Regions from separate parts of the Homo sapiens genome. Here regions 2 and 3 are each linked to region 1. The links are contacts of gene promoters, found by promoter capture Hi-C in blood cells and fetal thymus (Javierre and others, 2016). All regions are on one chromosome and are shown on one strand. The core of a region is centred on a gene start or on the middle of the fragment in contact, and the rest is flanking DNA. Distances in the headings are between cores, read along the strand shown.

Evidence for each region. The method cuts DNA at HindIII sites, captures the fragments that hold promoters and counts their contacts. A CHiCAGO score of 5 or more calls a contact.
Region 2: a contact is called between a fragment that was not itself captured here and the fragment with the promoter of JAK1 in region 1, in 1 of 17 cell types (erythroblasts). The highest score is 6.7, in erythroblasts.
Region 3: a contact is called between a fragment that was not itself captured here and the fragment with the promoter of JAK1 in region 1, in 1 of 17 cell types (M2 macrophages). The highest score is 5.1, in M2 macrophages.

Annotation. Positions count from the first base shown.
Region 1 is chr1:64,963,983-64,968,315 of GRCh38, reverse strand. JAK1 (Janus kinase 1) reads left to right here and starts at 1,767. Exons shown (of 25, transcript NM_002227.4): 1 at 1,767-1,983. RefSeq lists a silencer at 1,543-2,422. The HindIII fragment of the contact is 15,152 bases long and covers 1-4,333 here.
Region 2 is chr1:65,685,882-65,690,214 of GRCh38, reverse strand. No RefSeq gene overlaps it. Among named protein-coding and RNA genes, the nearest start is that of PDE4B, 100 kb to the left of the region's middle. The HindIII fragment of the contact is 3,103 bases long and covers 486-3,588 here.
Region 3 is chr1:64,267,026-64,271,358 of GRCh38, reverse strand. It overlaps UBE2U (ubiquitin conjugating enzyme E2 U), which reads right to left. Exons shown (of 10, transcript NM_001366232.2): 10 at 3,991-4,333. The coding sequence ends at 4,151. Among named protein-coding and RNA genes, the nearest start is that of UBE2U, 66 kb to the right of the region's middle. The HindIII fragment of the contact is 3,207 bases long and covers 602-3,808 here.

The sequences.
Region 1 (4,333 bases), core at 518-3,017:
AACCTAGTCTATTTTTTTTTTCTCTGAATCTTCATCACCTAGCACAATGTCTGTTATAGACGAACAGATCTAAACTGAATCCAGGCCCTCTCCCCCTGATTCCACCCTGTGAACAGCCAGATTCGTTCGTGGGCACAATGGGTTCACTGCTGCCTTCCTGACTTTCCTTTTTCTTTACATCCTCACCTGAAATGCTGTTCTTTCACGTCTCTGTCTCCCTTCATGTCAGTCTCACCTGTTCTTTATGGTCCAGCTCAATAAAAACCCCTACCACTTCCTGAGCCCATGCCATGTGGGCTATATTATCATAGTTCACCTTCAGCAAAACCCCTTTAAGGAAGGCATTATCCCTATTTAACAGGTGAAGAAAATGATGCAAACAGCCCTGAGGTGTTGTTCAGAGTGTGGCAGATGAGACAAGACTTGCACACAAACACCCACAATGCAGGCAACCCGGGTTGCCTCCCTGTCTGCTCTGATCTCCGGTCTTCTTTGGTCCTCTTTTCTGTACTTCTGGAAGGCACTTTGGAGATCCTTTTGTCTGCTGCTCCACTGAGAATTGAGTCAACTAAGAATTGTTTAGGGCAACACAGGTGGTTACTGGTGGAGGCCAAACCTCAAATTCAGTAGTCTAATTCGGATGCTTGACTTTATTCCACACCCAGAATATCTTGCTCAGTTTCAGTTGCAGTAACTCAAGTGATCAGGAACTGTCCAGCAGGGTTAGTGAAGTCAGCACAGGTGGGGCAGCCTCTGTCCACAGCCCTGAAGCTGCAGAATTCTGACCGTGCACGGCCTCGGAGGATTTTCATCCAGGGATTGTCAGGGGGAAGTCGCTGGAGTGTTTTAAGCATGGGAGTGTGTGGAACAGATTTGAATTTTTAAAAGTTCATTGTAGAGAATTAATTGGGGGCTGGAGTGAATGGAGTGACGATTTAAGAGATGTTCGTGGTCCCTTCAGGTGAGAGATGGTGGCAGCTCGGACCGTGTTGCCGGAACATAGACAAGTGAACTGATTGGAGAGATACCTAAGGAAATAAAATTGTTAGGATTTGTCCGTGGACTGCCTACGAAGTATGAATCTTGGCTACAGTGTGACCTTGATTAAGACACTAAAGACTTAATTTGTTCCTCATGGATAAGATGATGCTACTACTTTGAGAGGTTATTAGTAAAAAATGAAAAGCGCTGTACATGCATTAGGTATCAGTGAATGTAGTTCTAATTCCTATTATGCATATGCTTTTTTTTTTTTCGTAAAGAGCTTTTAAAATACGGAATGGGTTGGATCTGCAGTAGCTTGTCCAAGCTGGGGGCTGTATTGTTAAATTCTTTTTAGTCTAGTGCTCCACTAGCTCCTCTCCTACTGAGCTGGGGTAAGAAGCGGAGCGTATACGGAGGAGGCGGGATGCATTTCTGCATCGAGCGCACAAAGGTGTGGCGGAGGGGGCTCCAGAGCTGGGAGGGGTCAATCTACGGGCGAATCCTGGCAATTTTACTCCCCGCGATAGATGACCTCGCGTCCTAGATGAGTTTCTAGATTCTAGAATCTAGAGGACGCGGTGAACAGAGACGAGTGGGGGCAGCTTCGCGAGCGAAGCCGGATGGGGGCGGGGCGGGTAGGCCGGAGGCGCAGAGTCTCCGCCGGGACCGCGACCCCGCCCCGCTTTCCGGGGCTGCCGCTGGTGACGTCGCGAGGGGGTGGGCCCGGCGGCCACGGGGGTGGGGCCGGCCGCGGGGCGGGGCGGGGCGGGACGGGAGGCGGTGCGTCGCTGAGCGCAGGCCGCGGCGGCCGCGGAGTATCCTGGAGCTGCAGACAGTGCGGGCCTGCGCCCAGTCCCGGCTGTCCTCGCCGCGACCCCTCCTCAGCCCTGGGCGCGCGCACGCTGGGGCCCCGCGGGGCTGGCCGCCTAGCGAGCCTGCCGGTCGACCCCAGCCAGCGCAGCGACGGGGCGCTGCCTGGCCCAGGCGCACACGGAAGTGGTGAGTGTCACCGGGGGAGGTGGAGGAGCCGGGGCGGCCGCGGTCGGCAGGCGAGGGGCGCGCAGCCCGGACTGGCCGGAGGCGCGGCCACCGCTCTTGGTCGGTCCTTAGGCTGCGCGGCCCGGGCTGCTCCTGAGCGCAGCTCAGGACCCCGCGGCTCGGGCGGGGAAGGCGGGGATTTCCAGCCCCGCGGAGCCGGCGGGCGGCGAGGAGGTCGCCGGGCGGGGGCCCCCGGCCGGGAGAAGAGCGGTTAAGCCAGGCCGCCCCCTCCCCCAGCGCGCACGGCAAGTTTTCATAAACAAGCCCGGAGCGCGCTGTCTGACATCCTGTTTATACCACCCCGAGATACAGGCGCGGGCTGGAGGGCTGACGTCCCTAGCTCCTTGTACCGCGAACTTGACCGCCAGCTCCCGGCCGGGGTGGCAGCGCAGAAAGGTTTTCTTCTTCGGCCCCAGGAAGGAGGCTGAGGGTCTTAGCTTTTTTCCTTCCTTGCGGTCTCAGCGAGGGAAAGTTTCTGGGATTTGGAGCTGGGTGTTGGGCGTCCGCGAACTCGGGAAACGCCCCCTCCCCTCTTAGGTTCTGTTAGGAACCAGGCCTCAGGTAGCCAGCGAGAAGTGGGAAAGGAGACCCTGGGCGAGAGGACCAGGGAAGGGGAACAGTGGGAGAGAACTACCCGGGGAATTGCGAATCCCACTGGAAAGGGACTGATTAACCGAAACTGGGGCTGGTCTCTGGCTCCCTCACTCCAACTCCATCCGCGCATCGTCGGCGACCGGGAGCATCGGAGGACTAATAGACACTCCTCCAAAGTCACTCCCCAGGGTCCCTGGGATGTGGGCTCCTTGGATGTGTGTTTACCACGGAACTTCTAGATAAAAGATGCGATGTTTGCCAGGTGTTTGTGCACACGTTTTTTGGAGGGTTTGCACTCCATGATTTCCTGTGTGTTCCTGGGGAAGGGGACCCCGTCCTTCCTGCCACTCTTCTTACTACGTGGCTGTGAGCTGCCTTCTGCCCCTGGTTGAGTACATCGCTATACATGTCATTGACACTTTTCCCCCCAAGTCATAGGGTTTTTCTCTCACTGGCAGGAATTTACAGTGGTATAAAATTGTCATTACTTCTTTCAGGGAGTAAAACATGGGTAGTTAAGTGATGAGAATAATGCAGAGAGAGATGTAAATCAGGGCGTGTTTGGTTTTGGCTATTTTTTTATTTTTTGAAGAAAAGATTTGAGTTAAATATGGGTATAGGCACAGTAGATTTTGTTTAAGATGAGCAATTCGTATTGATTGAATCTTTGTTCTTCCCTTTCCAAAACCCCATTATGTGTTGTTTCTTGATTTTGCTTTTGGTGACTCTGATGTTTTCCAAGACCAGGGGATTATTTTCATTGAAGGATCAATGTGTTCTTTTGTACTTTGTGGTGAAGATTAATGGAGACCACCAGGGTTCCAGACATTTCTGGTACAATATGCTTTGTAATGTGGAGAAAATGTCTCCCCTGTATAGATCCAGATCACATTTAAAGATGTGAAGACATCATACTGGAATGACTTTGGACATTATAAATAGGAATAATCATAACCTCTTCTTAATTCTGTATATCATATTAACTAAGTGCTTTGACTGAGTCTTAGTTTCTGCAAATAGATACAAAACTATGTTTTTTTACTGCTAGGATTGCAGTGTGATACTCCACACTGAATACAGCCAGTTTAAATGGTTTCCTCCATTTCATACTATACTAATTATTTACTACCATTGGGAAATGATTGTAGAGAATGCATAAATTAGATATAGGTAAAATAATTCAAACATTTCCTAAAATATAACTACATTTCAGTTGTTGTAATTTAGGATCTTAACATGAGCTTGGCTAAAGCCATATACTTCCGACTGAAACAAGCATTGAGAACGTGTAGGTTGATACTCATTTGTGTAGAGAGAACAAGAGAACACTAAGGTATAACTGCATAGCAAAGACCATGATCTGTGTTTTCTAATTCTCAGATTCCTCTGGTGTTTTTTTCCCCTCAAAGACACATCCCATTTTGTATGTCCTTATGTCCTGATAAGATAATAGCATGCTGTTAGAAGATTTATTGTCTGAGATGTGAATATTCATACAAATAAATTTTTCTTGTTCATTTTCACATTTAAAACCATTATTTTAAGTGGATGGGGAATTGGCTTATTAATGGAATCTCGCTGAAGAAGGAACATTGGATGTTCTGTGATTATTGTGGCTCAGTGGTATATGGAACCTTGTCATTGAACAGGAGTGTTGGAAGGAACTTTCAGATTTTTTTAGACTAGTAAGGGTATGATTTTGCACCCAATGAGATAT
Region 2 (4,333 bases), core at 788-3,287, 720 kb before region 1:
CTATAGCCTCAGTGTCAACTACAGTGCCTGGAACCACCAAGTTTGGCTGTTGACAACGTTATCCCACAGGGAATAGTCAATGATAACCTGGGATTAGACTGCAGAAGGGTTTATACACCTACTTTTAGAATTCAAGTATTATTTGGTCAATACCAGAGAACTCGCAAATGTTTTTAAAAAGGCAGTCAAAACTGGCCCTCGGATGAATGAATGCAGCATCTCTAGGTCAGATGGACTGGATGAGGGCAGACTGGGGGTGTGAAACCTCAGAAGGCTCATGCTGTGAGCAGAGCAGAGGTGATGGGGGTAAAACAGGGAGCCCATAGAGGGAAGGAGGGGAGAAGGGAGGGCCTCAGATGGAAGCTTCAGAACTTGGCAATTGATAAGATGGGGAGAAGACTCCACAGCAACTCTCATATTTTATGCTTAGGATTCTGGAAGAATATTCACCCTCTTTCAAAATGGGAATAGGGGAAGAAAAAGCTTATTGGGAGTGAGAACTTGAGCGTGATTTTGCTCATCTGGTATTTCACTTGGTAAGGTAGAGACCCAAGTTTTAGTCCCTCTCAGCCCAAGTTAAGCTGTTGGTTAGTAAGTCTTTTTGTTTGTTTGTTTTGTTTTTTGTGATAGAGTCTCGCTCTGTCACCCAGGCTGGAGTATAGTGGTGCGAGCTCGGCTCACTGCAACCTTCGCCTCCTAAGTTGAAGCAATTCTCCTGCCTCAGCCTCCTAAGTAGCTGGGATTATAGGTGTGTGCCACCATGCCTGGCTAATTTTTGTATTTTTACTACAGAAGAGGTTTCACCATTATAGCCAGGCTGGTCTCGAACTCCTGGCCTCAAGTGATCTGCCCACCTCAGCGTCCCAAAGCGCTAGGATTACAGGAGTGAGCCACCACTCCTGGCTGGTTAATAAGTTTTAAATGTCAGTGTGCACAAATCTTTCCAGTGGCAAGAAAAAAAAAAGCAACAACAACAAAACCACACCTCTGTGTTCCTCCTCCTTTTCTCCTTTGACTTAATACTGAACAAACAATGTCGGTTTCTAGCCACTTGCTTGTCAAAATTTTGTGTGGTGGTAGAAAGAGAGATTGGAATGAGGACAAGACAATTACCATGATAGGGGAGGACTAGGACAGAAGTAGTGGCCAGAGATGAAGGGTGATGCAGGATTAAGGATGAATAAGAACAACAGCCAGTGCCAGATCTCTGGACTCCAGCACCAGCCATATGTCATCCCAGCCAAGTGAGTGACGACATCAGAGAAGCCAAATAGCCCTGTCCTCTATCTTCAAACTGCTGGGGTGAGCGAGCTGCAAGAATAAAACAGAGCTGACCTTTCTTTTCTGTTTCCCATCTCCTGCCTTGGAGATTCTGGTCCATTCTACTTACAACCAAAAGTCCCAGATGTATACAGCCAGAGTCTCTGATTAAGAGACACTCTTTCTTTTTTTAATTTAAAAGATACTAAGTAATAAATATTCACCATTTAAAAAAAAACTATAAAATGCAGATAAGGAAAAGCACTAATCACCTTCAGATAACTACTGTTGGTATTTAGCCTTTCATCACAAATTTTATATTCTTTACATTCTTTGTATATGTGTGACTATGTGCACACATACATTATTTCTAATGTTTTTTCCAAGATTTATGGTGGAAAAATAATGATAGACTTCTAAAGTCATTAACAGATAGTTTCCTATCCTACTGCACAATTTGGTGTCTGGATGCTCTGCTGACCTTAGCAACACTTGTTTAAAGTCCCAGCATAGTAAGGTCAGCCGCCGCCTGCCTGCTGTGTCTGCAGACTTTATAATTCTGTACCTACTCCCATATTAGGGGGCTCTCTCTTGCTTAAGTCCATACGCAGAATTTCGTTAGCCAGAGGAGTCCTGAATTGCAAGTGAGAAGACCCAAATCTTGGTACTATTTTAGCTTCTAAATGTGCTCCAACTTCAGGGACTTCAGGAGCCAAGCATCTCCTGAGGGGCCTCTGGTGAAGGGAGGGGGAGAGGGAAGAGCTCTCATTTGGAAAATGCCTACTATTTCCCCGTCAGGGACTGCTGGGCCCTCCCTATCAGCCATCCATCTACTTTATTACCGAAGCAAGGGGAGGCCTCTGCCCACATCCTGTTTGAAGGCTGGAACTTCAGACCTTAGGGCACAGGTCTTTTACTCAAAACTTTTCAGATAATGAAAGAATTGAGATAAGCCAAGAATGTCAACACAAGCTCCTAGAAAACAATTGCAGATGTCACCGTAGTCACTCTGCAGGGCTGCACTGGCAAAGATCCCAGAGCACTGACCCTGTGCCCAAAGTTTCCTTCTGCCTTCTCTGAGATGACCAGCAGGTGGCAGCAGAGCACAAGGCAAAGCAGAAGGACGGTTGTCGGGAGCTCTGGAAAGACAAGAGATTGCAAACACTATACTTTTAAAAATTTGATTGATATGTTTTCTTCACTTCACAAGTAACTTAATGGGTTCAACTCCGATTGGCCACCCCATGGTTGTTTCCTGACCCCTTGGAGATTTAGAGCCTAGAAGTCTGTCCTCACCCACTGTCCATGCGAGTTTGTACAGCATGAAAAGTTCTCATCTCCAAGTTAAGAAGTAATCTTTCTATGAGAAGCACACTGTTTGACAAGCTGGTTTTGATATTTACATGCCTTCAGGCCTAGACTCCTAGTCTGCCTCTTTTACGTACTACTTCTGAGTTATTTGAAAAGTTACTAAGTCCCCTATTTTCTCAGTGGAGATTTTAAGCATCATCAGGATTTAAATGAGGATGTGTGTTTAAAAGACCAGCATGACACTTGCCACATGGAAATTCCTCAGCACATTTCAGTTATCTCACCCCTACGAAGAGAAGTGAGGCAAATAAAGAGAATCTATTATGGGGAATGCTGTCATTTCAAATAGTTATAAAGAGGTAGAGAAAATGATTCTCAAACCAGAATTTTCCTCGTTAATTCATTTTTAACTATCTTGTGAAATACAAGCAATGTCAACGCTTCGTTTTCCTAAACATTTCACTCAAATCGACTTCGTTCAATTACATGCAATAGAAATTTACCAAAGGTCTATTATGTACCAGGCATTATCACAGACACTGTAGGTCCAAATATAAGTAAGACACTGGTTGGTGCAGCTCTCTGGAAATGGACAGTACAGGTATAGCAGGAAAGCAACAGAAGTAGTAAAATCAATATAGCATGCCCAGAGAGCCCCACTCTCAAGACCCAGGCACTGGGTCTAAATGACTAAGACTGAGGCTGATTCAAGACAACAGAGAATGTCCACCATGAACTCAGAATCCAGTCACAAACAAGAGCAGCCTACCACTAAAAGAGAAGCAAATAAGTGGAGAGTCACTGTGTGTGGCTCAGCCCTGCAGGGATGGCTGAAAGTTCAGGGAGGAGCCAAAACACAGAAAACCCTAGCAAGGTAAGAGCATCAAGGTTAGATTCCATCTAACCCTCCTGACTTTCATTTTCGACACTTCATTCTTCCACTCTGAGAAACCTAGCTTTGATCATTTACAATGTGTTTATTTATTTATTTATTCATTCATTTATTTTGTTCAAGCTTAACATCCAAATTAATTAGTTTCAAAACTTCTAACCCATACTCCCATGAGAAACAAATGTATCAAGTAAATACTACCCAGCCATAAAAAAGAATGAAACTGTCATCTGCAATAACATGGATGGAAAGGGAAGTCATTATGTTAAGTGAAATAAGCCAGGCACAGAAAGATGTTCTCACATGTCCTCACTTATTTGGAGGAGCTAATAATTAAAGCAATTGAACTCATGGAGATAGAGAGTAGAATAATGATTACCAGAGGCTGGGAAGGCAGTGGGGGAGGGGAAGTGGGGATAGTTAATGGGTACAAAAAAATGCTTAGAAAGAGTGAATAAGAGGAGGTTCCAAGATGGCCAAATAGCAACAGCTCCAGTCTGCAGCTCCCAGCGTGAGCAATGCAGAAGACAGGTGATTTCTGCATTTCCAACTGAGGTACCAGGTTCATCTCACTGGGGCTTGTCAGACAGTGGGTGCAGCCCATGAGCAGGGCAGGGCATCACCTCACCTGGGAAGCACAAGGGGTCAGGGAATTCCCTTTCCTAGCAAAGGGAAGCCGTGACAAACAGTACCTGGAAAATTGGGACACTCCCACCCTAATACTGCACTTTTCCAACGGCCTTAGCAAATGGCACACCAGGAGATTATATCCCGTGCATGGTTCAGAGGGTCCCACACCCACGGAGCCTCACTCATTGCTAGCACAGCAGTCTGAGATCAAACTGCAAGGTGGCAGTGAGCCTGGGGGAT
Region 3 (4,333 bases), core at 956-3,455, 700 kb after region 1:
ATTGAATCATCAATGAATGACTAAATGAGTATGGATAAACTATATTATTAACAGAACCGACTTTTAAAAATTTTGCTACCAGTTTGGTTTCTAGCATTGAGGACACTGAGTCACCCTTTGCTCTAGAACAGAAGTAGCAGCCAGCATCACTTCCCTTCCCTCTTCTTCCCTTCCTCCTATCTTGAACAAACAGATGAAGTCTGGAACTGTATCAGCCATTTTTTTTTTTTTTTTTTTTTGTAAGACAGTCTTACTCTGTTGCCCAGGCTAGAGTGCAGTGGTGTATGATCATAACTTACTGCAACCTAGAGCTCTTGGGCTCAAGCTATCCTCCTGCCTCACCTTCCTGAGGTGCACACCACCATGCCCGGCTAACTGTAAAAAATTTTTTTAGTAGAAACAGGATCTCACTATGTTGCCTAGGTTGGTCTCAAACTCCTGGGCTCAAGCAATCCTTCTGCCTCGGTCTTCCAAGGTGCTGGGATTACAGGTGTGAGCCACTATGCCCAGCCTTCTAGCAGCCATCTTGTAATCAAGAAGCAAAAGGCATGGAGACAAAAGCCAACATCCTAAAAATGGTAGCGAGGAAAGAGAAAAAGCTTGGTCTTTGATGGCTTCATTGCCCAACTAGCTGAACCAATGCCAGCAACTGCCCACCTAAGGGCTCCTTATTTTGTGGAAAAAAAAAAGAGTCTCTACCTCTTTAATCCTCTAGTAGGTCTTTTGTTATTTGCCATGGAACGTAGGAAAAAGTTGACTCATATGACACAATATGAGAACTCAGAGTTATTTAAACAATTTTGAACACTAAAGTAATATCATCTTATTAGTAGCCCTCACTGGTGACATTGAGGTTTATTTTAGACATATTCTAAGTTAATTATTGTACATACACTTACTTAATGAGAACAATATCTTAGTTATGAAGTTTTACTTAAAAATGGATGGCAACTTGTGAACACATCTAGTATATACAATTTTCTCCTCTATAGAAAACATTTTTTTTATATCGGTGAAGGATTGTTAACATGAGCTAGTTATTGAGACATGCAAAAAGCCTCAGGAGATCAGGATGGATGTTGTAATTGTATTTGTTGAAACAGAATTCAACTTGTAAATATAATTACCCTTGGCTGTTCAAGTGATCACTTTTCATTTAGATTCCAGTCTGGTCCTTAGAACTTGAAAGTGAGATGAAGAGTCGGGGAGAGGGTTTGAACATTGAGAGGCCATAACAAAGAATGAAAAGGTCTGGGGTTGGTTAGTACAGATCGCAGAAGGGTATAGAACATTTAAAATTAGCCTTCAGATCTATTAAGGGATATTGCTCAGAAAATGAGAGCCAGCTGCACTCCATCTTTTATGATGAAAACCCCAAATCAAGTGGGCTTATACTTTTGCATCTAGGAATCAGATTAACCAAAAAGAACTCTCTTCTGGGAGGTGGTTAAATACTGGAGTTGAATATTTAGATAAGGTTTGAGATCTCACCCTCTGGAGAGAGTGGCTTAAATTTAACTCTGGGTCTCTGTATATTCTTAGTTAACTGCCAAATAACAGAGAGGCACAGGATCCCCCTTCATCTCCCAGCCAACACCATTGCTACCATCTCCTCGTTAGGGGCACCCATGGCCTGTAAGGGAGCAGCAGGGAGGCAAAGGAGGTCTAGGTGGCAGGCAGGCCCCAGAGAGCCTTCTAACTGTCAACCCCTAGGGAAGTCCCTCCCTCCCTCAGGTAGGAGAGGCAGCAGTTCTCAGTGGATGCACTGATGTCTGGAAGTCATTAAACAAAACTCAGGCTCATTCTCATCTACAAGAGGGTGGTTTCTGTGTGGTCCTGCCTGAAGCCAGTGGTGAGGACTGACTGATTTCTCCAGGTTGGCTCTATGATTTTATCAACGTGAGTAATTTGTAAGCTCTGGGCTATTTTTCTTTTAGTAAATCTTTCCTAGTACTGAGTAAACATCTTCCTTGGGAGGGAAAACAAAGTATTCCGCTCTTATAAAGTGGTCATGTGCCATACGAGCCTTTAAAAGCATAAGGAGGCTTGGTGCCTGGCTTCCAGTGAAGTGTCTCTTAAGACTGAAGTGCATGAAATAGCTAACTGGCGCCATCTGGAGGGGAAGTGGAGTCTAAACAACAACGCAAGTTTAAAAAACATTGACAATGACGTAAATGCAAAATTTTATAATATTTATTTTATTTACTTTTATTTTTATTTTATACTTTTAAGACGGAGTCCTGCTTTGTCGCCCAGTTTGGAGTGCAGTGGCGCGGTCTCTGCCCACTGCAACCTCCGCTTCCCGGGTTCAAGCGAATCTCGTGCCCCAGGCCTCCCTAGCAGCTGGGACTACAAGAATGCGCCACCACTCCCGGCTAATTCAGAACATTTTAAAAAATGAAATTCCCTGCTTCTCTCTTCTCCTCTCTTTTCAGAATCCATCCAGACTGATCACAAGGGGGCTGGGGCCTCGCGTTCCTATAGAACCTTAACTTCAGATCTGACGTCATATCCAGTGGAGGGTATGCGTCAGTTGTGGAGTTTTACTATACATGACACACTCCGTTATCAAATGGCACGATTTGGCATGCCATGTTAATCATATTTGAAATTAATCTCAGAATTACATTGTCTCAAAGTGTCATCCACTAATCATCTTCATCAGAATCAGCTGGTTTTTTTGTTTTTTTTTTTTTTGACGGAGTCTCCCTCTGTCGCCCAGGCTGGAGTGCAGTGGCGCGATCTCGGCTCACTGCAAGCTCCGCTTCCCGGGTTCACGCTATTCTGCTTCAGCCTCCCAAGTAGCTGGGACTACAGGCACCCGCCACCATGCCCGGCTAATTTTTTGTATCTTTAGTAGAGACGGGGTTTCACCGTGTTAGCCAGGATGGTCTCGATCTCCTGACCTCATGATCCGCCCGCCTCGGCCTCCCAAAGTTTTGGGATTACAGGCGTGAGCCACCACGCCTGGCCAGCTGGGGTAATTTTTAAAACTGCAGGTTTATAGACTTCAGTTCAGGCCCCCTGAATCTGAATTTCTTTCATAGTGCATGGGATCAATTAACTAAATAGAAGTAAATTTTGTTTTTTATTTGATCAAACACAAATATAGTGCTTACTATAGGCCAGGTGCTATTATTAGAACTTCATAAATATTAATGTATTGATGCATTTATTTGGTTTTTCTCAACAACCATAGAAACCTAGGTGTGTTTGTTCTGTTTTGTTTTGTTTTTTTTTTTTTTTGAGACAAGGTCTTGCTCTGTTGCCCAGAGTGGAGTGCAGTGACATGATCACAGATCACTGCAGCCTCGATCTCCCAGGCTCAAGCAATCCTCCCACCACAGCCTCCTGAGTAGCTAGGACTATGGGCATGTGCCACCAGAAAGCTCTACTACACATATCTGGTCTCTTGACACTTTCCTGGCTAGCTAAATATTTAGCTAAATATTGAACCCGGAAGGCAGATCAATAAATCTGACTGAGAAAAATGAGTGAATACTGGTGAGGCAAGCAGAGTTGGGGGTCAAAGGCAGAGACATATTTTAGAATAGGAGAGACCAAAGCACATGTGTAGGTTGAGACAATATGGCAAAAAGAGACAGAGAAAATAAAGTTATAAGAATACGAGGAGATAGGTCAAGGTTTAAGAGAAAATGGCACGTACTCTGGGATAAAACAGAAGAGAAACATTAGTAAATAGCGACATCTCATTCCTTGAATATGGAGGAAACAAGACAAGAAACTAGGCAGATGTAGGTCCATGTATAGATCCCGCTACTTGGGGTCATGTCCAGCCTCTGAAGCTTTTAATTGCTCCCCTCCTATCCCAACCTCTTTCTGACCCATTCTCTGCCTGCAAAAACTTGTGTCCAGTAGCCTAACAACTGTGGGAGTGTGACACCATTGATTGGCATATGGCAATGAACACCCCTAACTTTGGTAACTTTGTTCTAAAGGAGTAGCACTCAAAAAAGTCAAAGCAACATCTTTACTGATTTGTACTTATATTTCTAATTTGTACTTGCAGTGAGTGGGTGAGAACAACTTAAAAAAAATGAAATCCAAGTTCTGAGAGTCTTCCAAAATTGCTCCACAACGCTGGGCTATGGCGGAGGCTGTTTATTTTTTGAATCTGATAATGTTCTGCTTAATCTTCTGAAGTATTTGTATTGAGAGTATTGGTCCAGGAGATCAGATCTTCCACTTCCTCTTCCCTGGGCTCATCTGTGTCATTTTCATATAATGAAGTGTCACTCTTCCACCCCTCCTCTTCTGTTTCATAAATGTCTGTGATGCTATTTATTGCAGTTGGTGACTCAAGAAAAATTTC